Linked DNA regions of Homo sapiens: regions 1, 2, 3, 4, 5 and 6 are each linked to region 7. Evidence: promoter capture Hi-C in human tissues and cell types (Jung and others, 2019). All regions are on one chromosome and are shown on one strand. The core of a region is centred on a gene start or on the middle of the fragment in contact, and the rest is flanking DNA. Distances in the headings are between cores, read along the strand shown.

Evidence for each region. Contacts are between HindIII fragments. The study calls those that stand out against the background at their distance.
Region 1: a contact is called between a fragment that was not itself captured here and the fragment with the promoter of GALNT18 in region 7, in 1 of the 25 tissues and cell types used here (IMR-90 fibroblasts).
Region 2: a contact is called between a fragment that was not itself captured here and the fragment with the promoter of GALNT18 in region 7, in 1 of the 25 tissues and cell types used here (stomach).
Region 3: a contact is called between a fragment that was not itself captured here and the fragment with the promoter of GALNT18 in region 7, in 1 of the 25 tissues and cell types used here (mesenchymal stem cells).
Region 4: a contact is called between a fragment that was not itself captured here and the fragment with the promoter of GALNT18 in region 7, in 1 of the 25 tissues and cell types used here (neural progenitor cells).
Region 5: a fragment that was not itself captured here is called in contact with the fragment with the promoter of GALNT18 in region 7 in 1 of the 25 tissues and cell types used here (bladder).
Region 6: a fragment that was not itself captured here is called in contact with the fragment with the promoter of GALNT18 in region 7 in 4 of the 25 tissues and cell types used here (bladder, dorsolateral prefrontal cortex, mesenchymal stem cells and 1 more).

The regions. Positions count from the first base shown.
Region 1 is chr11:11,186,809-11,190,380 of GRCh38, reverse strand. No RefSeq gene overlaps it. Among named protein-coding and RNA genes, the nearest start is that of LINC02752, 73 kb to the right of the region's middle. The HindIII fragment of the contact is 3,554 bases long and covers 305-3,572 here.
Region 2 is chr11:11,145,391-11,148,985 of GRCh38, reverse strand. The region is part of intron 3 of LINC02752 (long intergenic non-protein coding RNA 2752); the gene reads right to left. Among named protein-coding and RNA genes, the nearest start is that of LINC02752, 32 kb to the right of the region's middle. The HindIII fragment of the contact is 6,611 bases long and covers 1-3,595 here.
Region 3 is chr11:11,247,549-11,250,871 of GRCh38, reverse strand. LOC124902631 (a long non-coding RNA gene) reads left to right here. Exons shown (of 2, transcript XR_007062594.1): 2 at 3,316-3,323. Among named protein-coding and RNA genes, the nearest start is that of CSNK2A3, 100 kb to the left of the region's middle. The HindIII fragment of the contact is 3,685 bases long and covers 1-3,323 here.
Region 4 is chr11:11,265,879-11,269,623 of GRCh38, reverse strand. No RefSeq gene overlaps it. Among named protein-coding and RNA genes, the nearest start is that of CSNK2A3, 85 kb to the left of the region's middle. The HindIII fragment of the contact is 5,514 bases long and covers 1-3,745 here.
Region 5 is chr11:11,165,566-11,169,312 of GRCh38, reverse strand. LINC02752 (long intergenic non-protein coding RNA 2752) reads right to left here. Exons shown (of 8, transcript NR_187402.1): 4 at 1,156-1,490; 5 at 115-232. Among named protein-coding and RNA genes, the nearest start is that of LINC02752, 52 kb to the right of the region's middle. The HindIII fragment of the contact is 3,344 bases long and covers 445-3,747 here.
Region 6 is chr11:11,317,912-11,321,617 of GRCh38, reverse strand. The region is part of intron 9 of GALNT18 (polypeptide N-acetylgalactosaminyltransferase 18); the gene reads left to right. Among named protein-coding and RNA genes, the nearest start is that of CSNK2A3, 33 kb to the left of the region's middle. The HindIII fragment of the contact is 7,313 bases long and covers 1-3,706 here.
Region 7 is chr11:11,619,959-11,623,384 of GRCh38, reverse strand. It overlaps GALNT18 (polypeptide N-acetylgalactosaminyltransferase 18), which reads left to right and starts at 1,380. Exons shown (of 11, transcript NM_198516.3): 1 at 1,380-2,026. The coding sequence starts at 1,792. RefSeq lists silencers at 1,078-1,437, 2,188-2,267, 2,288-2,357 and enhancers at 940-1,440, 1,558-1,637, 1,848-1,897, 2,638-2,867, 2,530-3,426 and 1 more. The HindIII fragment of the contact is 13,654 bases long and covers 1-3,426 here.

The sequences.
Region 1 (3,572 bases), core at 832-3,331, 430 kb after region 7:
TAAAGGTATTCTTCTGATGGCTCAGATAGCATCTTCCAAAGAAATAAAATGGATATTTATTCTGGCCTTTCTTCTGTTAAATTAGCATCTCTTAGGTGATTAGGCTATCAGGATATTACTCCTTTGTTATAACAAATAGAAAGAAGGGTATTCACTTATTCACAGATTCCATAGTGTCATGAGCTGAGACTAACCTTAATAGATAGCATACCTACTATCTAATTAATGTTGTAAAACAGGACCACAAATCAAGTGCTTCTAAAAACAAAGTCATTATTTTTTTGTAGACAGCCTCCAATATTAAACTGACTTGTGGCCAATAACCCTAAGAAACAAGTTCACAAATTCAAGTCACAGAGTCGTATATTCGGCAAACAATTTAGCATGGAAAGGGCACAAGGAAACTCTATTTTTCAAGGTTAAATATTCCATGGGTGTTTACCAAAATATTTTGTGAACAAATTGGGTATTTGGCCCACCTGCTTTAAATTTTTTCCAAGCAAAAATTATTGCTGTTCGTGCTCTGATGGAGAATACTGGGGGCTCAATTACCCTTTTGTCTGTGCACTGGAGTGTATCCAAATGCTTCCTGAGGAAAATCTTAGCCTGCCTCTTTGCTTTCTATTTATGTCTGTGTCCTTGCCAGGCTCCTCAACTTTCCTAAGTAAATGCTGATCCTGAGCCTGCCAGCTGACCAGTGAGGCAGACCTGCTCCATGCTCAAGTCAGCAGTACAGCAAGCTGCATTGCATGCCAGGTAGCCCTGGCACCTGGAAGCCCAATCGAGCAGTTAAAAGACTCCTGTGCGATTAGAAAATTGTCAGAAAGAAGCAGTCCATGAATTTTTCTCTTCCAGTGGTTCTTAAGCTTCACAGGGTTCAGAGCCACCACTGATAATCAGATGAATCAGATGAAAACTGATATGGTTTGTTTCTGTGTCCCCACCCAAATCTCATCTCTAGTTGTAATCCCCACATCAGAGGAGGGGCCTGGTGGGAGGGGATTGGATCATGATCATGAGGGCAGTTTCTCCTATGCTGTGTTCTCTCTCTCTCTCTCTTTTTTCTCTCTCTCTCCTGCTGCCATGTAAGACGTGCCTTGCCTCCCCTTCACCTTTCACCACGATTGTAAGTTTCCTGAGGCACCCCCAGCCATGCAGAACTGTGAGTCAATTAAGCCTCTTTTCTTTATAAATTACCCAGTCTAAGGTCATTCTTTGCAGCAGTGTGAAAATGGACTAATAAAAAAACCATAGGCCCTCTTCATGGAAAAAGAAATTGTTTTAATTTTTGGAGTCCTTATGTAAGAATCTGTTCTAAATCCTCTCGAACACATTCCAGGATGGAGCCAAGTGGCAAGGATGCTTTGGCCCATGACTGTAGAGGTGATTTTTCCTGAGTGGTACCTAGGGATAATTCCATGAGTTTCCATTTGTGGAAAATTGAGTATTTACTATAGGGATATTTTTGAGGACATTGTTCATTGTATCACACATGCCCTCCAGCTACAAATTCACAGGAGGAATTTCTCTCTCAGTTCCACTCCTTTGCTTCTCTTAAGGAGTTGTTTTTGTTTGGTTTATCTGTTTACTTTTATTTCTACATATTGTGAATAGTATAACTTGGTGGCGCTTCACTCTGGCCATACTTTAGAATCACTAGTAAGCTTTTATAACATACAGATGCCAGCCTAGACCAATTAAATCACTGTCTCTTGGAGTAGGGCCTGGAAGTATTTTTCAGAAGCTCACTAGTGTCCCCAACATACAGTCAGGGTTGAGAACCACTGATCCCTGGAGAGTCCTGCTCCTTGGCATTGGCCACTAGAAAACTGAAAGCCAGGTATGCTGGCTGCTAGCAGCAAATTCACTGGGCCTTGTGGCTTCCACTGGTATCATCTCTCACCCCAGACACCATCCTAGCCTTCAGTTCTCATTTTCCATTTGTCAACACATTTTAAATATGACTTTATCTTGTGGCAACATGTTCTGTGTTAGTTGGAGACTGTGGGCAGCCTACCTGAGCTTGCTTAAACTAAACATAATGAGAGGAGTCACTGTAATATCATGGGGTTATTTCATGGCCACAAGGAGAGGAAGTATAGTTGGATCAGAGGAGGAACAAAAACCAGGATTGAGAAAAATATAAGAAACCAAAGCATTCCCTCTCCTAGTCTCTTACCTTTCTCTTCCCCAAGTACTCTGTCTGCTTTCTCCTACGTATCTGTTTCATTCTGTCTTCCTCCATAAACCAGCTTTCTTTTCTTCTCTGTGAAAATAGGTCTCAGTCAAGCCAATTAGTTGAAAGAGACTGCTATCTCTAGGTACTAATTTCAAAATCTCAGGAGAAAGACTGCAATTGGCCCATCTTGGGTCAGCCATCTCCACCAGTTCTGTTCCGCTATGGAAGGAGGGTTAATAAGGTGTAAACATGATTTCCAGGCCCCCCACTATAATTGAGAGGGACAGTTCTTAGAGGAGGGAGGTCACAGCCTAGCAGATGTCCCTAAATATGGCTTAAACAGCAGTTGTAAACCACTTTGAGACTTTCTGCAATAAGAAAGAGTATGAGCAAATAAACTGCAAAGCTCAACGTGAATTACATCTGCATCTATCTGAGAATTTGGCCTTAGGATCATTATAACATTAGAGAGACAATAAGAAACTTTGTACAGAGTGCAAATGGGACCAGTATGTGCTGAGGGGCCAGGTAACATGGACATTTTGCATTTCTAACACTCCTCAAACTCACTGGTACCTGCAAAGGTCCTGTCTGAAGCCATTTCTGAATCTCACTTAGATAACAAACCTGTATGTCAAATCCATGTCAGAGGTGATTCTGAAAAACCTTAGTCATGGCCCTTTCATGGCTCTAGGCCTCACTTGCCAAAACCGCTTTAGAAAAATATTCAAAATGGAGAGCAATAATTTCATGTTAACAGACATTTCGGTTCACCAGGGTTCAGCTTACAAATCTCATGATGCTCAACACTGCTACACAAATTTTAACAAATTTCAAAGTCACTGCAGCAGAGTCATGATTAGACAGGCCTTCATTTGTCAGACTAACATCAAGCAACTTAAAAATGAAGCTGGTAGCATTAGCTGTAGCAGATAATCATCAGAAAATAGCTTACGTTTTACAGCAAAAATAAAAATAGTTGTCACTGTTAATATTTGCTAAGTGCCAGGACCTGTGCTAAGAAATTACTTTTCTTAATCCACATCATAACACCATAGAATATAGGGTAAGTTTTTATTAACTTTTTATTGAAGCATAACTTACTTTTCTAGGGCACATAGATGTTGGCCCCAATGAATATTCACAAACTAAACACACATGTAACCAGCACTGAGATCAAGAAATAGAACATGGCAAGCACTCTGAGGTCCCTATTTGGGTTCCTTTCCAGTTACCATGCCTATGCAAGGGTGACTGTTGTCCTAATATCTAGCAGCATGGATTAGTTTTGTCCATTTCTGTTCTCTATACAAATGGAATAACAAATAGGTACTGTTTCGGGTCTGGCCTTTTTCACTCAACATTATGTCATCTGAGATTCATTCACATTGTC
Region 2 (3,595 bases), core at 330-2,829, 470 kb after region 7:
GGAGTGTTATTAAATTAATTTCTGAACTATCCTTGCCTTGTCCTTGAACTAAAAAGCTAAGGACCCTGGAGTAAAAGGCAGGGGATGAGGTGGGAGGGGTGAAGGGGAGAAGCAGAATGAGGCAGGGCAGCAAAGAGGCAGCAGAGAGGCAAGTTCCTGACCCAGGTCTGCCCGACAGACTCGTTCCAGCAGGTGGGCTGCCTCGTGCTGTCCAAGGCACTGTGTTGAAGAGGTTCAGTAAGTAAAATAAGAAATGAGAGTCCTCTGATCAGCTACTGTACCCAGGGCCCTAAAAATGATGGAAAGGTGGCCTCCCTCTGCCATGGGGTCAGCCCAAAAGTAATTACCAGGATACTTTGCAGATTATTGAATAAGTCCCTGGAACCGGCACACTGATTTATATAAGACCTGGAGATTTTGAGAGATTTGAGAGAATATTAAGAATCAATCAATATTTTAATTTATTTCAGGGTCCTGGAGACTTTAGCTCTGTAGAAAACCACAGGGAGGAAATTGTGACCTTTGAAATATGGCTGGCTGGCAGGCAGCAGGGAGGTACCTCGGCAAAGAGCCTGTTTGGCAGCTGCTGCGGGGAAAGACTTCTCTGTGCTGGAATGTTCTCTTTCTTCACAGCATCAGTCAGGAATTTCAAATAGCCAAAGAGGGGAGGGCCTCAGGGTGAGTGAGCTCTGGAGCCCTGGCAAGAAGGCTCTTGGCTTGAATGTGCATAGCTTACTCCTCCCCAGAGAGAGTCCCCAGGGCCTGGAGAGAGGAGCCTGCAGACTTTGTGTCTCTGCCTAGGAGGCGCTGCTGTGATCTGGAGACGTCCTCGTAGAACCACCTGATGATGTGTCATCATTGCAGGAGATCCAGTACCTTCTCCCCTGGGTCACTAGGCTCCCTAGGCCATACTCTTCCTGTGTCCTCCCCAGGGCTTTACCAGACATCTCATAGAGCACGTGAGCACCAGGTCTCGGACTATCACCATCCTCCTGTCTTATTCCGCAGGAAGACTGTAAGCTCCCTTCAGGCAGGAATGATGTCTGATCCATTTCTGTGTCCCCAGTACCTGGCATCATGCCTGGCCCAGGATAGGTAGATATGAAAAATAATGTGTTGAAGAAATGAATGGTCAAATGAACTAATGCAAGAAAAATAAACATTTGTTTGTAAAAATCAGTTATGTTTCAACAGCAAGCAGACGGCACATTCAAATGTAGTAATTAGAGAAATTCAGAAAGGTGAAGACAGGGTGGAGGTAACTGACCAAAGCATGCAGCACCCTGGGGCTGGCAGCAGTGGGAGAGAAGGAGCTGTTAGCACCCCCAGGCCTGATGCGGCTAAGAGAGAAGCGGGTCCCAGAACCTGGAGCAGGCCACTAAAACGGAGAGGTGGCCTTTTGCAAGGGAGGCAGCCACACCCTCAAACCTGCAGGGAGGAAGTGGGGGAACAAATACCTTGACCTCGCCCTCTGTCCTTCCTTGGATCTCCTCCCTGTGTTCCTCACTGGCCAAAGCCAACCAGAAGTCAGAGGCCAGTGGAGCTCCTTGATCCAGAGTGGAGAGTAGACAAAAGATCCCCAGCAAAGGGCTGCCAGGTAACTCTCTGCCTATTCCATCTGGCTTGTCCAGCCCCACGAGAAGGGCAGACAATGGGCACCCCAATCAGTAGTGCCAACTACTGGGGCACCCCAGTAGTTCTCAATAAGGGGCAGTTTTGCCAGCCGCTGGGGGGATTTGTTTTTCACAACTGGAATGGGGAGGGTGCTACTGGTATCTAGTGAGTAGAGGCCAAGGATGCTGCTAAACATACAAAAATGCAAAGGACAGCACCCACAACAAAGAACTATCCAGCTCAAGATGTCGATTGTGCCATGCTGGGAAAGCCTGGCCTTAATCAAATGTTGAGAGGAACTCAGGCACACTCTGTGCTGCCCTGGCTTCAGCCAGAGAACATTGCCTCACTGTGCTGGAAAGGGCAGCGTCATTTGGTCCAACCCAGAGCCATCGGCCAGTAAGTGACCAGTGTCTGACTTTGAGTGTCCCTTCGGGAAGGTGCTTTAAGGAGAAAGTCTATCTGCTCTCTGTCTCTCCTCACTGACAGTGATGTCCTAGGGTGTCCAGAGTGGTAGACGAGTGGCAGGGAGCACTGCTCAAGCCATGGGCAATTAGCTTTCCCCTGGAGGCCAAAACCTCCCCACTGGGCTCACCACCTCCCCAACTCCCCTGATATTGAGGGGAACGAGAAAGCTTCTCGTTCCCCTCATTTTCAGCTTTACATTCACACCATAAAAACATTTTGTAAAAGTGAATCAAGTCTTGCCATCTGTCTCTCTCACTTTTATCATGTTTATAATGAAAAGAAGAGTCAAGAGGAAATGGAATCCAAACTGCAAATGGTGTGCTGCTCCCTGGTAGCTGAGATCCACCCGAGCAAGGCAGGGACTTGAGGAAGAGGGTGGCCCTTGTGGCGCAGCATCATGTACAAAGTGAGTTCCATCAGAATCTCATGCGAAGTTCTCATGGCAGCCCTGGGAAGTAGAGCTTGTAATCCACATTGACAGATGAGGAAACTAAGGTTTTTCAGGGGAGATAAGTACTTCAAGGTTGTACTCCCAACAAGTAGCAAAGGTCTTAAACTCTGTACTTGGCCATCAACTCCAAGTTGTAGACCAATGTTGCTTCCTATTTCATCCTGACGTGAAATTGTTAGCTTACTGCTACTGGGGTTTAGGTACCATATTGAAAACTGTTGAAGTTTAAGTGACTGTGGTACTTAAGAGAGCTCTATTTTACTCCCTGTCACAGCTTAGAGATTTTGTCCCTCATCTGACCCTCCAGGGTCACAGCCCGGGAGAGAATAAGTTCCATGTGTACATTCATGTCACAAATATTCATTGAGAAAACCATGTGCCAGGTGCGAGATGTGGGATGGCCAGAGAGTACCATTCTGAGCAGGGCAGCAGATCTTGAAAAAGGACCCTTGGCACCAGATCAGAGAGGAACCTAATAATGGCAGGCTGCATTTATTGAGCACTCACTATGAGCCAGCTACTGCTCAAGTACTTTCTACATACTAACTCATTGAACCCCATAAGGCTGATACTCTTACAATTCCCATTTTACAGATGAGATGACTCAAGCAGTTTAGAAAATTGCTCGAGGAACCCAGCTTAATAGTTGTTCTGTTCTGACACGTGCTAGAGCGTGGATAAATCTTAAAGACATTTTGCACAGGGGAAAAAGCCAGTAACAAAAGGAAAAATACCGTGTGATTCCACTTATATGAGGGACCTAGTGTAGTTAAATTCATACAGACAGAGACTAGAAAGGCTAGGAGTTGGAGGGGAGAAAGAAACGGGGAGTTATTGTTTAATAGGTTCAGAGTTCAGTTTGCAAAGATGACATGAGTGTGGAGGTGGATTGCAGAACAATGTGAATGTCCTTAAATTAGTGCCATTGAACTATACACCTAAAAATGGTTAAAAATAGGCCAGGCACGGTGGCTCACACCTGTAATCCCAGCACTTTGGGAGGCCGAGACGGGCGGATCACGAGGTCAGGAGATCGAGACCATCCTGGCTACCACAGTGAAA
Region 3 (3,323 bases), core at 478-2,977, 370 kb after region 7:
ACCTCAAAGGCAATATTTACAGATAGGAAGCTGAAGGTGTTTGATCCACAGAGAGGTGAAGCAATTTTGAAGACCACAGATGTTGCTGACAATGTAAATGCCTTTGAGGGCAGAACAGAAACACCACAAACAGAGCATGGCCACTGGGACAGAGTCAGCTCATTTGTACCTGGTGTCGGACAGCAAATATTCTCCTCAGGGTTGCATCATCCATTACAACAACCCCGTGGCTACTCTGCACATGCCTGAAGCCTAATAGCAGAAAATAGCAATGCTTTGAAGCAGAAATTCCTGGGATTGAAATCTTTCTTGTCACTCACTAGCTCTGAGTCTAACTACCCCCTCTGGGATTGTCTCTGTAAAAGGGGTTCATGAATTCATTTAATAAATATGTATTGAGCATCTACCATGTGCCAGGCATTGCTTATGGTACAGGGATGGAGGACAGAACTACGTAAATGAACACCCCTGTTTTCTTGGGGCTTGCATGTTGTTTAGGGGAAACAGACAATAGACAAGTTACACACACACACACACACACACACACACACACACACACACACACACACGTATTATATACATATGGCATGTTAGAAGTGCTGTGAAATTATATAAAGTAGGGAAAGGGGATAGAGATGCCAGGGGCGAGCAATTTTATAGGGTGTTCAAGGGATATGTTCCTGAGAACGACTTCTGAGCAACCTGAAGGAAAAAAGGTAGCAAGCCAGACTGAGGGTTCACGCAGACAAAGCAGCATGTGCAAAGGCCCTAAGGTGAGGAAGTACCTGGGGTGTCATGCTTGAGAATAAAGTTATCTACCCTCTAGTGTTGATAAACACACACATATAGGTATATATATGCATACAAATAGATGTATGTACAGTCAGCTCTCCATATCTGTGGGGTCCTCATCTGTGGATTCAACCAACTTTGAGTCAAAAATATCTTTATCATGTATATATTACATATATACTTCAACAGAGATGAGGTCTCACTATGTTGCCCAGGTTGGTCCCACATTCCTGGCCTCAAGTGACCCTCCTGCTTTGGCGTCTCAAAGTGTTGAGATTACTGGTGTGAGCCACTCTGCTGGGCCAAAGATATTTAAGAAATCAATGGTTGCATCTATACTGAACATGTAAAGACTTTTTTCTTGTCATTATTCCCTAAACAATACAGTATAACAATTATTTACATAGCATTTACATTGTATTGGGTATTCTAAGAATCTTGTGATGATGTAAAATATACAGGAGGATGCAAATACTATGCCATCTTAGTACAGGAACTTGAGCATCTGTGGATTTTGATACCCTTGGGAGTTCCTGGAACCAATCTCCATACTGAAGAGCGACCATATAGGTGTATATGTGTGCATATGTGTATATGTATGCATGTGTTAGTGAGTTAAATTCAAGTGACAAAGAATCCCAGATCTCAGTGCTTCACAGCCTGACATGGGTCAGATTCCTCTACCTCCAAGCAGCATTCAGTATTCTTGTGTTCCCACACTAGCATTGTCTCTGCCACAGCCCCTTTGCAACAACTTGGTAGAATCATTGCTAGTTAAAGTTGAGAGAAGGACCTGCAGTCAGCACAGGTAGAAAAAAACCCTAGATTAGACCACTCCTCAGTCATTCATATGTTAGCATGTAGCACCTCTGAACACGAGCGATGAAGTCCAGGCTCAGGATGAAAGTCATGGTGAGGATGAATGTTATCACACGTGAGGTTCTATCCTGATTTGATTTTGCCTGGGATTTCAGAGGCTATGTGGAAGTTTTTGCTCAAGTGCTGATATAAGATTATCCAAAAATACACCTTTTGGATCGGATATTCCACTAGCCATTGATTGGACTAGAAAGCTCTTGATTAGCTAAACAGCTCAACTCTGGGACCAGCCAAAGGGAGTATATCCCAGAGCAGGAAGGTAGCATTCCTAGGTCATGTTCTGTTCACAGCTGGTTTTACATATATGAAAGTTAATAGTCCAATATCTTCAGAAAGTAGAGAATGTAGGCCAATATGTTTTTGGTACTGAAGCAATTTACCTTGGATCCCAGCTTAACCTAATAATCCAGCTCATCATCACTATTGAAACTGAGGCCATCAACACTTTGGTAGAGACTTCTTGTCCTATAGATACCCTAATCCAGGGACTAGCCTCACCCATGCCCAGACACTCTCCAGCCTGAGCACACTGTAGTCACCAAATTCCGGCTATAACTAATTGAGGTGATCCCATAATACTTCATCATGGTGTCATCTCTGAGAGCTCTTGGACCACACAAGCTGTGTCTCAGGACTATCAGAGGAGAGAATGGGGGAAGGATGTATTCAATGGCTTTTATCTTTCATTGGCCAGTATTTTATTTTACGGGATGTTAACATTCTTGTACTTCTATGTTCCACTTGTGTGATGCAGAGTAGGGTTTTACAATGGCATCAACGGAGAGGTCCCAGGGTAAAAGGCAAGCAGTACATGAACATATCTCAGTTGAGAAACTGTTAAGTTGTACCTGTGTAAAATTGATTAAAGCCCATTGCTATGGTCTGAATGTTTGTCCCTTCCAAAACTCATGTTGATATTTAATTGTCATTGTAACATTCTTAAAAGGCGATTAGGCTACAAAGGCTCCACTCTCAGGGGTGTCGTTTATACCATTATACAAGGGTGAGTTCAGCCCCCTCTTTCTCTCTCTCATCCCCTTACTTCCTGTCATGTGATGCTAGCAAGAAGGTCCTGACCAGATGCTGGCACTTTGATCTTGGGCTTTCCAGACTCCACAACCATGAGCCAATAAATTCTGTTTATTATAAATTACCCAGTCTTGGGTATTCTGCTATAGCAGTATGAAACGGACTAAGACATCCATGCAGCACTGGTCATTGCAACAGTTGCTGCAATAAGAGAAAGGTGACACTGAGAAGTAGTGCATAAGCGGTGTTTAATTCATAGAAACTTAGTGGTTTCTATTGCTATTATTTTCATTATCATTATGAGCTAGGCACAGATATTCTTGAACATGGGCCTCTACCCTGGAGTCTGGTGCTCTGAAGTTTGACCTTGGGCCAGAGTTCAGGCACTCTCCAGAGGACTTACATTTCTGATGCCAGACATAACCTGACAGAGTAAAAGCTGTCTTTTATAGCCTTACCTGGACTAACACACCCCAATGGCTTTGTTCCTTAACAGTTGGCTCATTTGCCCCCATTGTGGGCACAGCATGAAAACTAAGATGCCTCAAAAATGGTAAGGATATTGGTGCCCACGCTTGTAAGATTTCATGTATTTTTTTTCATTGTGTCTTGCAGGTAGCTGG
Region 4 (3,745 bases), core at 313-2,812, 350 kb after region 7:
ATTGACTGTATCCTGGCCAGACTCCAAGTCACTGCTGGCCAAGCACGGTGGCTCACGCCTGTAATCCCAGCACTTTGGGAGGCCGAGGTGGGTGGATCACCTGAGGTCAGGGGTTTGAGACCAGCCTGGCCAACATGGTGAAACCCAGTCTCTACTAAAAATATAAAAATTAGCTGGGTGTGGTGGCAGGCACCTGTAATCCGAGCTACTTGGGAGGGTGAGGCACAAGAATCACTTGAACCCAGGAGTTGAGGAGGTTGAGGCTGCAGTGAGCCAAGGTCATGCCACTACACTCCAGCCTGGGCAACAGAGTGAGACTCTGTCTCAAAAAAAAAAAAAAAAAAAAGTCACTGCCAACAGCCATATAGCTCCAGCAGCCTGCATCACTGCCTGAGGCCTTTCTCTGGCCATAGGCACCTGCTTAGCCCATGCAGGGCAGACAGGAAGTATTAGAGAGCTTGGTTCATAGGAACAACCCCCAGCCAATAAGGGATAGGCTTCCTCACCCTTCAGGGGTGCAAATTGGAGGCCTGATCCTGTAGTCTCAGACAGGCCCTGGAGGGACTCAGCCCCAGTTGCTCCTGAATGCCCCTGGCCTTTCTTCCCTTTCCTGTCTCATATCCCTCACTCCTCTGCACTTGCCCCAATCACCTCCCAAATGCTTGTCCCTGAGTATGCTTCTGGGAGAAGCAGCTTACGCCCACTCCTTCGGATTGTCCCCACCCATGGCCCATCTGCACCTGGACACCAGTGATACCCAGATCCACGTGTGCACCCCAGAGCTCTCCTCTAAGTTCCAGGCTTGATCTCTCACTGCTGATGGGCCCTGGGCAGGCGTGTGGCCATAATGCAGACAATGCTGATCTGAGGGCCCCCATAAGGCCCGGCCCAGGGACCAGGACCAGCACCACCTCCACCAGGTGCTCGAACCAGACACTCCTCGCGACTGAGCTCTTCCTGTCCTCACCCTCCACCACCCCTTCTTGCCCTCAGTATATTATGGCAGCGATGCCTCCGAAACAGCTCTGAAATCTTCCCCAAGCCTCTTCAACACTCACAGACAGCCTCCCCAACTCATCTATCCTCCACACTGTGATAGCTACAAGGGTCTTCCTGAAATACAAATATGATCAGATCCCTTCCTTCCTGAAATCTTCAGTGGGTCTCATCAAAAATTTTAAATGACTAGCTCAGGCACCAGCCTTGAAGCTTCCTCATTTGGTGAATCCAGAGGCTGAGTGTCAGAAGCCCGGTGTCCTGGCTGCCACACACACCTGGTGGCATGGTGTTAGTGCCCCACATCCTCTCCCCTATTTTGAGGAAGTTTTGGGGGAGGTATATTAGTTTGCTAGGGCTGCTGTTACAAAGTGTGACAAACTGGGGAGCTTCAACAACAGAAAGGTATTGGCTCACTGCTCTGGAGGCTGGGAGGCCAAGATCAAGATGTTGGCAGGGGTAGCTCCTTCTGAGGGCTGTGAGGGAAGGATGGCATGGATCAGTTCTGGGTCTTCTCCTTGGCTTGTGCTTGGCCTCTTCTCCCTGTGTCTCTTCACATCCTCTTCTTTCTATGCATGTCTCTATTTCCAAATCTCTTCTTCTTCTAAGGTCGCCAGTCGTATTGGATCAAGACTTACCCAAATGACCTCATACTAACTTCATTCCCTCTGTAAAGACCCTATCTCCAAATAAGATCACATTCTGAGGTACTGGGGGTTAGGACAAGTTTGGGGTCAGGTGACACAATTCAGCCTCGAAGCTCCCTCCTTCAAGGAACAGGGACATAGGGGAGGGGTGGTGAGGGCCAGGCCAGGCCAGGCCCCAGGAGGCTGCCTACGCTCATCCCGCCTTGCTCAGGCAAGTCCTTCCTTGTTGGGGGACATCCCCATGGTCCTGACCTCCACAGAGATAAGGGTGGGCACTTCACAGGTGACAGGGAATTTTTGCATAAGTATCTGAGGCATTCATCATTGTCCTCCATGTCCACATCTCTTTTAAAGAAAACTATCCCAACCACAGTCCCAGGTGTGACCCTGTTTGTGCCATGACCATAGCTGATTCAGCCTGACCCATGGACAGGTATTTTGTTGGCTGCTGAGTAGGTAATGACTAAGCACAAAAATGACCAGCTGGGGCCAATCAAATTTTGCCTGTGAATTTGCACCATGACACACCATATTCAGCCAATTGAAGAAGGCCAGGACCCATGGCCATGCACAGGATGTACCTGGGGAAGAGCCAGCCTCAGAGGACCAAGAAACTAGACCCCTGTGCAGGCTGGGATCATGGGGAAAACCACAACTAAGCAGAGAAAAGAAAGGAGCTGATGAGCAAAAGGCAGCAAACTGGCCCTGGAGCTGCCTGGGTTTCCTCCTCCCAGACCCAACCCATACACACCCTGATGTTTTTTCTTTTCCCTCAGCTGGTTGACCAGCTCCCTGCTCTTTACAACAAACAAGACTGATAGAAGCAGGATGTAAAGATTTTAGATACCAGGACCTACTCCCTCACAGCCCCTCGCCCATGGGGGAATGCACACACAATCCCTACAACGGCTGTGCACACATGCAACAGAGGTACACATGTTTCACCATCTATGTACACATCCACGCACAGGTTAACATAGCCACACACATACACATATGCACACACATGCAGCAGGTTGGACACATGCAGACATACATGTACATACTCAGATACACAAACGTGCATGAGTGCAAACACACTGACTCCATAGAGAAAAGGGATTTCTGCTCCTCCCAGAATCTGCTTTTATAAGAATAGGGCTGTCATCATTTGACATGGCCCTTGTGAAGCAAAGGTTGTTGGAAATCAGAGCTCTTTTATTCTTACCATTTCTAATTACAAGCAAGAGATGTAAGGGGGTTCTGAGGCAAGACAGAAGCATTCACTCTCTGCCCTTCAGATTTTATCGCCATGGTCACCACTCTCTAAAACCCAGTAAAACAAACAGAATAGTCACCCAAAAACGTGTCATCTCTCAGCCATGCTCCTTCTCCTGCCTTCAGCTCCAAACAGGAGGGAGGGGAATGAGGTAGACACCCTAGACCACATCTAGCACCTGACCCCATAAGACCCTCAAGTCCCACTGCCCTGCCCTCTGCCTCAGCCAACCTCTCTACCCACAGTCAGGAATTTTAACCTTCCTTGTTGTTTTGGAAACAAGATTGGGCAGAAAGGGCCTGGAGAGACATTAGCCCTAATGTGGGTGTCTTTTAAAATTATATGGTGTAGCCACATCGTGGAAACCAGGTTTTAAAGACTGTCACCACATAATGTCTCTATGTCCCTGTCCAATTGAGCCAAGTTGTCCAGATCTGTACCCTCTGAGTATCTCTTCCTCCCCGTGAGCCCCTCCCATTGCCTTCTGGCTCCTGCCGCTGCCACCCTCGCCACAGCCTCTAGGGGGCACTGTGCTCCCTTCGTGCTCCCACCCCCAGGTTCCTTTACAGTCCAGGTGAGGTACACTAGGATTTCCAAAAGGAACTGAACTACTAAAGGAGGACTCCAAGGAAATGATCCTCAAACCAAAGAGATGGCGTGAGAGTTATTTCTCCCCAGTACTTTCTGTTCCCTTAAGTTGTTCTACTCACGCCTTTCCACGGGCCTGGTCTGTCTTTGGTTTCTAATCATGGAAATGCTCCTGGTAGAACCTGACCCTTTCCCCAACAAGGGGAAAAAAAGCCCCTTCTGTACTCAGGATATGAGTCGGGGCCTCGGATCTGGG
Region 5 (3,747 bases), core at 867-3,366, 450 kb after region 7:
TTTGGACAGGACTAATGTAGGATGTGTAGGCTGGCAGAAGTCTGTAGAATTTCCTGAGGCCAGAGGATCTTGAAAGGGGCCTGGCATCTAACCATACAGCATACAAATACAAACCTTGTAAAGATGTTTGTCTTGTCCACTCTTGCTGAGGGGCCTGAAACATGTGTTTCACCAGAGTCTGGAACTTTTCTGTTTGTTCATTTGTTTGTTTGTTTGTTTTTGGCTGTCCTGTCTATGAAAGAGCAAGGGACAGAGTCAGGGACACCTGGATCATATTCCGGGTACAGGTCTTTTCCCTTCTCTGGACATCAGTTTCCCACCCCCACCCCCGCCCCCAACCTTAAGACACAGGTAGATGAGATGGCCTTTCCCGTCTCCTCTCGCAGTCTCTATTTTCAGATGATTCTCATGATTCATCTGAATTCTACCAATAGAGAAGCTTATTTAAGCTTCAGGTTAAATATTTCAGCAGCTGGCACACGGTAGGCCCTCAGTAAATGTCCAGAATGATTTAAGGGATGCCTCGGGCATCTAGAGTTTCTCACCATATCTGTGTCCGTTCCTATAATTTCCTCACACTCGATGAGCCACGTGGGCTGCTGTAAAGCCTGTGGTTTATGAAAAATAGTTTAGGGCTCAAATCCCAACCAGGGGGGCACAAAATCCCTGGGAGGAAGGGCCCGGAATGTCACTGAGGCTGGCAAAGAGACGGCATGAAATAAAACTAGACCAACCTCACTCATAAATATAAATGTGCAAATTCTAGACAAAACGCCAGGAAATTGAATTCAACAGTATATTAAAAGAATAATTTACCACAGCCAAATAGGGTTTACCGAAGAATGCAAAGCTGTTTTAATATTAGTAAATCTGTTTATAGAACATATCAATGGGTCAAATAAGAGAAACCATATGATTATCTCAAGAGGAGCAGGAAAATCATTTATGAAGATTCAAAATCAGTTCCTAAAGGGGACCTTCTTTAAAATGCTAGGACTAAATGATGCAAGTGGACAGTGATGGGAATGTTTTTAGTGGGAGGGCACTCCACATCTGAAGGTTTTCCAATGTTTGGGAAATTCCCCGCTTTCTGAGTTTGGGTGGGAGGCAGAGCCATCTTTCACGGTAGAAATGGAAGAAAGGCCAAGTGCTTACTGTCCTGGGTATTGGCCCCCTCCTTGCAGCAACAGTGAGGCATTTATCATAAGCTCAGATTGGGGAGCAAAAAAGCCAGGCAGCAGAGAATCTTTTATGGCAGTTCCAGTAATAGCAGCAACATCTGTTTCCAGGGACACGGTGATAGAAGCACAAGTAGCTGTATCTGGGCTCTGGGGACCAGCAGAGTTGGTGTTTCGAGATGTGGCATCCCATGGTCAAAGATGGCAGCAGCCATTCCTCTGTGTTCCATGTCATGATCTGCACTGTGGTGCCAGCTGCCCAGGAACTCTTTGTTCCTGACTTCCTGGTGATTCTCTAAACCATCCAGAATCCTGCCAACAAATTTCTTTTTTGCTTAAATCAGCCAGAATCAGTTTCTGTTGCAGGCAACTAAGAAATCTTAAAGACACAGAAGGTTATTTCTTTAACATAATAAAGAACATCTTATTTTTTAAAACCTGTGGCCAGAAGTAATACATAATGTCATTCCTATTAAAACAAAGAACAAAACAAGAATTTTTGTTGACTGCATATTTCTTTTTTAAAAGTCAGGTTTACTGAGGTACAATTTGCACACAATAAAATGTATTCACTTAAACTGTACAATTTGATAATTTCAGCAAATAAATGCCATCGTTGAAGCACCATGATATTCAATACACAGAGCATCCATCACCCCAAAAATTTCTCGCAAGTTCCTTTATAGTTAATGTCCTCTTCCACCCCAGCTCTGGAAACCACTGATCTGATTTCTATCTCTATAATTTGGCCTCCTCCAGAATGCCATATAAATAAAGTCAGATGGTAGCCTTCTGAGTCCTGCTTCTTTCACTCAGCAAACTGTTTTTTGAGATTCATCCATGTTGTTGCATGAATGATATTTCATTGTATAAATATTCCAAAATTTGTTTATCTATTCCATGATTGATGAATATTTGTATTGCTTTCAGTTTGGGATTATTATCAATAAATCTGCTATAAACATTTGTGTATACAAATTTTTTTCTTGGGTAAATATCTAAAAGTAGGAATGCTGGGTCATATTAAATAAACGTTTAACTTTATAAAAAACTATCAAATTGTTTTCTAAAGTGGCTGTGCTGTTTTGCATTCCCACCAACACTTCATGTGAGTTACAGTTGTTCTGAATCCTCATCAGCACTTGCTATTATCAGTTTTTAAATTTTAACCATCTAGTGGATGTACAGTGATATCTTGGTTTGACATTAATTTTTATTTTTCTAATGATTGATGATTTTGAGCATCTTCTCATGTGTCTACTTCCCACCAATACATCTTTTTTTTTTTGGTGAAGTATATGTTTAAACTGTTCACTTATTTATTTATTTGGCTGTTTGTCTTCCTTTTACTGTGTTGTAAGGATTCCTTATATATCCTGAATACAAGTTCTTTGTCAAATTTGTGTTTTGAAAATAGTTTCTTCCAGTCTGTGGCTTGTCTTTTCATTTTCTTAAAAGTGTCTTTCAAAAAGCCAAAGTTTCCATTTTGATAAAATTCAATATATCAATGTTTCAATTTCATTCGATTTATCATTCTTTCATGATTTATGCTTTTTGTGTCATATCTACAAAACATGTTACCTAACCCAAGGACACAAAGATTTTTTTATCTTACACTTTCTTATAAAAGCTTTATAGTTTTAGCTCCCACATTTAGTCTATGATTCATTTTAATTTGCTTACATAGAATGAGAAAAGTGTCAATGTTCATTTTTTTTTGCATGGGAATGTAAAAATTTTCTGGAACACTATTATTATTTAACATCATTATAGAAGTTCTGGTTGACATAATGAGATACAAAACATAAGTAAGTTGTATAGTTATTGGAAAGGAAGAGAAAAACTATCATTATTTATAGTCAATATGGTTTTGTATCCAAGAAACTCAAGAGAATCTATTGAACACACATAGAATTAATAAGAATTCAATAAGGTGATTCATTACAGAGTAAACATGCAAAAATCAATAACTTTTTAATATACTAACAGTAATTATTTAAAGAATATAAGAGAAAAGAATCCCACACACAGTAACAGCAAAGACTTAAATGCCTAGAAGAGAAAATAAAAGAGAAAGAGAAAGTGCAAGGCCTAGATAATGAAAATCACAATGTTTCATTGAGGATATAAAAGAAGTTAACTAAATATAAATGTGTAAATACCTTATATGGAGAAACTCAATAACATAAAGATGTTAATTTTCCCAAATGAACTTATAATATTGGAGTTATCTGGGGAACATGACAAAATGATTCTAAAATTCATCTGGAAAGAATCACTGAAAAAGTGTGTTGAAGAGCAGTGAGGAGGACCAGATACAAAAATATTTTATAAAGATATCATAATGAAAATATTGTGTTAAGGACCTAAAATCAAATAGACGAATCAATATGCTAGAATAGCTAAATTAGTCTGAATCAGAACGTGATATATATGAAAACTTTATGTATGATGACTGAAACATCACTAACCAGTTGGGATCAGGATTTATTGCAGGGTAGCAAGAATGGAAGAAAGGAGACCAGTTCACAGGCTATCAGAATAGTCCAAGAGAAATACGATGGCCGAG
Region 6 (3,706 bases), core at 235-2,734, 300 kb after region 7:
AAAACAAAACAGAAAACCTACTCATAAACTGTTGGAGCATCACTGAGTTACTATGGCACCAAAAATGTAAGGGAGTTAGGAAAGGACAGTGAAGTGGGCATTGGGATGCCTGAGTTCAAGGGTTTGTCTTGCTACACAATTGCAACATCACCTTAATCTTCTCTGGGCCTTTATTTTGTTTTACTATTTTATTGAGGTAGAATTTTATACTAAAATACACGAATCTTAACTGCACAGTTCTTAACTTTGTATACACTGTACAGTCACCATTAAGTTCAAACCCATCATTCCAGAAGGCTTCCTCATTTGTCCTCTTGGTCATACCTCCACCCAAAGGTAAGGATGGTTCTGACCACTCTCACCATTGATGAGTTTCATCTGAGCCTGTATTTCTGTCTGCAGATGATAAAGCTGGATTGGGCTTCTTTAGGCTCAACACTCCTAGCTCTGACAATCTGCTTATCTCTAATTCCTTTGTTTTGAAATTCAGTTGGCGTGGGAAACTGTGAATTTGTGCTTGCCAGGAATGCTGGGAGCTGCCTTTGTAAATAAGCTTCTTGATGTGAAGCTGCAGCAAGTCTCAAAGGGTTGGGTCTCCCTTCCTCATCCCCCAAAGCCACAGAACACTCATGCAGCTGGGCTGTACAGGGAGCCCTTGGTGTCCTGGTGACCTTTCACGCCAGGCCATGCTCAGATGCACAACTAGCAGTGCTGTGTAGGGAGGTTTGGGACCAGCCTCAGATTACACACATTTCCCAGGAAGGGGTAGGGATGCTGCTGTGGCAGGACTCTGTTGAGGCTGTGGCCTGCCCAGTGAGCTGGGAGAGCTGGAAAGGACAAGGTTATCCTGGGGACGGGCTGGGTATTCCCAGCCTGAGCTCCTACATCCACCCATGATGAACGCAGGGGCAGGGGATGAGTGAAAGGTAAGGGGCTGCTGTCTGGCAAGGCTTCCCAAAGTCATCTTCCAGCCCGCAAGAAGTTCACTGCTCATGGAAGAGTAAGAAAAGGGGTACTCTAGGACGTGTTACCTGAGAATGAAGTCAGGGTACATCTCAGAAGGAGACTGTGGACAGGTGAGGACCCCAAAGATCCTCTGAATCCTACAGACTTGGTCCAAATCAAACATTCAACATGCATTTCCAGGGATGTCACCCCCTCCTACTGGCAGTTCTCAGCAAGATCTTTATTGTTACCATGGCCACATAGGACAAGGAGAGCTTTGGGAAGGTCGTGTATGCACGGATGGAACTGTCACATGCCATTGTGCAGGTTGTGCACTGTACAACTGCAGGAGATGGAGGTGGCACTTTACATTGTTGCCTAGGGAATATAGACCAAGCCAGGGTAACGGTATTTCTGACCTCTTCTATGAAAACTTACATATTCCTCCCTAAGCATCACACTTGATAGGAAGCCTGAAAATGCTGAAAGACAATTTCTGAGGCAATATATAGTGATTAAGAACCAGACTATATGGGTTCAAATCCCAGCCATGCCACTTACTAACTGAGTCTCTTAGGTGAGTGTCTCCTCATGCCTCAATTTTATTGCCTGTAATGAAATTGGCTGGTGGTTGGTGGTCCCTTGGCTTGTAGCAGCATAAGAGAGAATATAGTAGTACTAACTTTGTGGAGTTGTTATAAGGATTAAATAAATCAATGCACATAAAGCGTTTAGAGAACAAAATCTGGTACACAGTCATCGCTTACTAAATGTTGGCTATTATTACTATTACCAGATTGGTAAAGACACTCTAGACCATGTCCTTGAGTTAATAGAGTAGGAATTGTTTAGCTTAAAAAGAGAACAGATTTAAGGGGGACGTTAAAACTCCTTCCAAAGTATAAGGATGCAGATTTTTGGCTGAGCATGAGGAAACTCTTCCCAATCATTGGCTCAGGTTATTTTGACATCTCCGTCATCAGCACTGAGCCATGTTTGGCAGGCTCCAGGGACATTCTGAAGGATTTTTATACCATGTAGGCTCTTAAGCTAAGAAATTCCTAAGGGCTCTTGCACCCTGGAATTCTATGACTTTTTAATTCATTACCTTGTCCAAATCAAGGTAACGGCTTGTAGCAGCATAACTCCACCCTTCACATGACATTCTCCATGTGTGTGTCTGTGTCCAAATTGCTCCTTTTTTATGAACAGCATTCATGTGCCAGATACTGTTCTTGGCCCTGGGAAATGGATGAACCAGAAAAAAAGTGACTGTCCTTGTGAAGCTATATTCTGGTGCTAGCAACAGACTATTCTCTATTTTCTAATCTTCAAATCTTCACCACAGCCAAGATTTGAACTTGTTTCTCTCTTGAGCATTGCATATGGGGCAACATTTGAGCTTCATGACTTGGATTTCAGCCAGCAATGGCCAAGAATGGTGAAGGTGTAAGAAGGGCAAGAAGGCAGGACTGCAGGCTGGCCCCGTTCATCTTGCTGACTTTGTAAGACGGTTAAGCAAGTACTGAGTGCATTTGAGGAACTGAGTATCTGTAGGCATTTTCTAAGTAAGACGGTTAAGCAAGTACTGAGTGCATTTGAGGAACTGAGTATCTGTAGACATTTTCTAAAGAAAAACGTCAAAATAAAATGGAGAGATTAAATGCAAAAGTGGTTCATGTCCTATGGGGAAATAAAATTATAGCCTTTCATGTGATCTTTTCTACACAGACAGAAATCTAGGAGTTAGCATACAACTTCATAGTGTCTGAGAGAGAATCAAAAGGTAAATAGCAAAGTCAAGCATGAGTACATTCTCTTGGAAAATTACATACTCTTGGATGGGCCCGTTAATGTCCCAGGATAATATTAAAAGGACAGGCCACTTCCCCTCTTTGTTTTTGCCTTATTTCTAGGTTTCAGGTATTTTTCTTACTCTTTTCACAAAGTTTGTTGAAGGTCGAGGGACACTCCAGGCCACTAGTGACTCAGTGACTCTTATGGGTCACAGCCTGACCATCTGACCTTTTCCCCTGCAGAAGTTTCCCAGGGCTTCCGTAACAAAGTACCACAAGCTGCGAGACTTAAACGACAGAAAATTACTGTCTCACAATTCTGAAGCCTAGAAGTTCGAGATCGGTCTCAGCAGGGCCAAGCTCCCTCTGAAGGCCTAGGAAAGATTCTACTCCAGGCACTCTCCTAACTTCTGCTGGTCCCTTGGCTTGTAGCAGCTTAACATCACCCTTCACATGGCATTATCAGTATGTGCGTCTGTGTCCAAATTGCCCCTTTTTATAAGGACACTACTCATGTTGGATTAAGGGTCCATTCTACTTCTGTGTGACCTCATGCAAATTTAATTATATCTGCAATGACTCTATTTCCAAATAAGATTACATTATGAGGTACTGGGGGTTAGGACTTTAACATATGAATTTTGGGGTGACACAATCCAACCCAGTTCACCTCCAAATGGGAAGAGTGGAAATGGAAACCTGACTCTCACTTTCTAGGCCAAAAAGGGTCTCCCATCACTTCCTCTCTCATTTCACTGGCCAGACATGGTAACATGGCCCTGCCTGACTCAGAGGGGTAGCAAGTTGTGGTTTTCTGTGTGTCCGGGAGATCTTGTCTTTGTCACAAAAACTTAGATATTTTCTAAGTCAATGTCATCTCTGACAAATAAGAAAAAATAAGAAAATGGCATCTGGGATGTGAATTGACTTGCCTGAAGTCACACTGCAAGTTACTGGCAAAGATG
Region 7 (3,426 bases), core at 131-2,630:
GGTCCCTAGTTGGTATCTGTTTTCATAGCATCTTTGGGGAGGTTTTGTAAACAAAGCATTGGTAGAAGGGCCCTTGGCTGATGGGGCCATAAAGTGCCCTTTCTTTGGTTTTGTGCTCTCCCTCTCTTGTGGGGCCAGTCATTTGAATCCAGAAGATATCCCAGGATGGAGCTGCCCTGAGTATTTCTGTGGCTGGTTGGAAGGCTGGCACACAACAAAGTGGGCATGCAGCAGGCTGCCTCCCTGGCTTAGGCCAAAAAAATAAAGCAACTCAGAGATGGAGAAGAGGCAGGAAATCTATGTTGTAAAAAGTCTTTGTTTAAAGGAATTCCGTTCAGGTGCTGAGAACGGGGTGTTCAGCAGAAGAGGATAATATGAGTAAACATTGGCAGTAAGAACAAACACAGCAGTATCACTGTCTGCGTCTGGCCTCCTCCTGTGCTCAGTCACAGGTCTCTCCCACCGCCCTCTATGATAGCAATCATAAACAACATGTAGAAGGGCTTTACAGTTCACAGACCTCAGTTCCCCTCAGCGGCACTTCCTTGCAGGGTTTCTTTATGCACTGGATGACCCTGGTTCCACATAAATGAAAACTGGGCTTAAAGGACACATCCATGTCCTGGGAGCTGTACAGACTTAAAGAAAAACCTAGATAGGGGCAAAAATTGGGGCAGGCGGTGGGGGTGGGGGGTGGGGGGTGGGGGGGGGGAAGAAGTGGTCGAGAGAGTCATCTAATAGGTCACCAATGTTGCTTCTGGGAGGTTGCCGGAGGGTTGGCTCCTTTCAGCCAGGTTTAGGGCCAGGTCTGGACACACTCAGGAGGCCGGTGGCTGAAGGGCAGAGGGCAGGGTGGAGGCCCAAGTGAGGCCAAGGAAGGAGTGGATGCCGCTGGGGCTGGCACTTCCTTGGCTTCTCAGCGTCCTGGCAACCAAGAAAAGATTCCAGGAGTCGACTGGTGGCACCAATGCGAGAAGCCCCGGGCGGATGAAAGAAGCTGACCCGTGCGAACCCCCCACCCCCTCCACAAAACCAGGAGATTCCTGCCCAAGAGCAAGAGATGGAATTCCCCTAACGGAGGAAGCTGCCGACCTAAGGGCTGGGACTGGCAGCGCGCCCTCTCCGGGAGCTTCAGGTCTGGGGCAGCCTGTGCAGGCGCGGGTGGAGGCCCGGGCGCGTCCCTGGGGGCGGGAGCCAGGGGCGGCCAGCAGGTGGGGCCTGGGAGCTGGACTCCGCCCCCCGCTCCCTCCCCGTTGGTCCGCTGCCGCTCAGCACCGGCCCCTCTCCCGAGCCGGAGCGCGATTGGTGGCAGCGCTTGTCGCTCGGAGGGGGCCGGGCCGCTCTGCTTCGCGGCTCTCCCCGCCGCCGCTGCCGCTGCCGCTGTTCTCCTAGCAGCGCGGGCCGGTCGGACCGCCAAGGCAGCCGGCGCTGGCGATGGGAAGCGGCGTGGCCGCCGACACAGGCAGTGGCAAAGTTTCCCAGACGTACACATCTGGACGCGCGGCTGCCGGCTACCCGTGACCCCTCTAGGAAGGGTTCAGGGATTTTTAATTTGGAAAAAAATCCACCTGGTTTCCTTTGTCAAGGTCTCTCCGGGTGGCCAGCGGCAGGAGCTGCAAACTTGGGCACGGCGGCTACACCGGCAGCGGACCGGGCTTTGGAGAACCTCGGGACTCAGGTGCTGAGGTGCCCAGCGGCTCCGGACGTGCTACGGGGTGCGAGCGCGGGGGAGTTCGGGGCGCACGACAAGGAAGGGCCCCCGGGAGCTCTATATGGAGGAAGGAGCCCAGAATGGTGTGCACCAGGAAGACCAAAACTTTGGTGTCCACTTGCGTGATCCTGAGCGGCATGACTAACATCATCTGCCTGCTCTACGTGGGCTGGGTCACCAACTACATCGCCAGCGTGTATGTGCGGGGGCAGGAGCCGGCGCCCGACAAGAAGCTGGAGGAAGACAAAGGGGACACTCTGAAGATTATTGAGCGGCTGGACCACCTGGAGAATGTCATCAAGCAGCACATTCAAGGTACGGGCGCCCCGGAAACTTGGGTCGCCCATGAGGCCCGGGAGTGCCCCGCGCGGCGCGGGGTGCGCTGGGGCTGGTGCGCATCAACTCAGCCACGGCGGGGCTCTGGGGCCGCAGATGCGTGGTAGTCGTGGGGCCTGCGTGTGAGCTCCTGCCTGCGTTCGGGACCTTCTGTCTGCGGCCGTGCGCTCTTCCCCGGGGCACACGTGTGTGCGCAGGGCTGCACGAGCGGATGTGTGCAGCTAGCTGGCGGTATGGGGGCGCGCTGCGCACGTGTCCAAATGTGCGTGTGACTCTGGGCTGGTTGCTCGCGGGCTCTCGGGATCGCACACAAGTCCGGCTCAGAGTGTGTGTGCATGTGAATGTCTGTGTGTGTACAAGAGGGAACGCGCGGGCAAACGAGCTTTTTTGGCCACTGTAGGCGTCAGGCGAGATGCCCGCGCGGCGGCCCTGACTATTGGCAGTTAAGACCCGCAGGCTGCCGGACAAGCGAGGCTAGGAAAATTGCGTTGTATCAGCCCCAGCCCCAGTCTTGCTGTGATCCCGTTGGTAGGCGATAGGGAATGCAAGGAGCCCTCTGTGGTTGAAAAGCCGCTTGAACCTATAGCAGTCCCTACCCCCACCACAGCCCGCGGGTCCAGGACCCTCTCCAGGAGCAGGTGTCAACGCCGGGAAGTAGCGCTGGAGTCTCTGTCCACTGTGGTGATGACTCCGCCCAAGACTGGAAGAACACGCCCTGGGCTGCGCCTTCCCCGCGGAGCCGCCCGGGACCGGGTGAAGGCCGATCCCTACTGTAGCTCCACTCTCAGGCCCTGGGAGCAGCCGGGGCTGAGCAGACCTGGGTTGGGTCTGAAGTGTAAGGTTACGCTGGTTGGGTGCGCTCCAGACCAGCGCGGGGGTCCAAAGGGAGGGTGGGGGTTGCAGGGCGCTCTCCCGAGGCGACCTGGTCAATGAGCTGTCATGGGAGGGAATGGAGTTCCGGGCGCCAGGAGCACTGGTGCCGGGTGTGCACACACACACACACACGCGCGCGCGCGCGCGCTCACGTCCACACTTCCTCCCCTCCCCGCGCCCCCTGCTTTCTTCCAGGTGTGTGAGCTTCTTAAGGGCAGGGCCGAGCTTGGTTCCCCTGTAAACCTAGCAGGCCCACCAGGCTCAGGGGCCAGTGCATGGCAGACCTTGGCAAAATCGAATTGAACTGAAGGCTTACCCCCCACCCCCCCGCCAGGAGCACTCCCTTTTGTTTACACGTGGATGTCTGAATTCCAATCCTTGCACCTGCTGCTCTTGCCAGAGTAGAGATGGCTCCTCCGTCTGAATTTGGTGTTTCCCCAGGTGTCCAGAATAGTTCCTTTCCAGGAGGGGAAGGTTCAGGGAGGTTCAGGTGAGTGCAGGAGAGG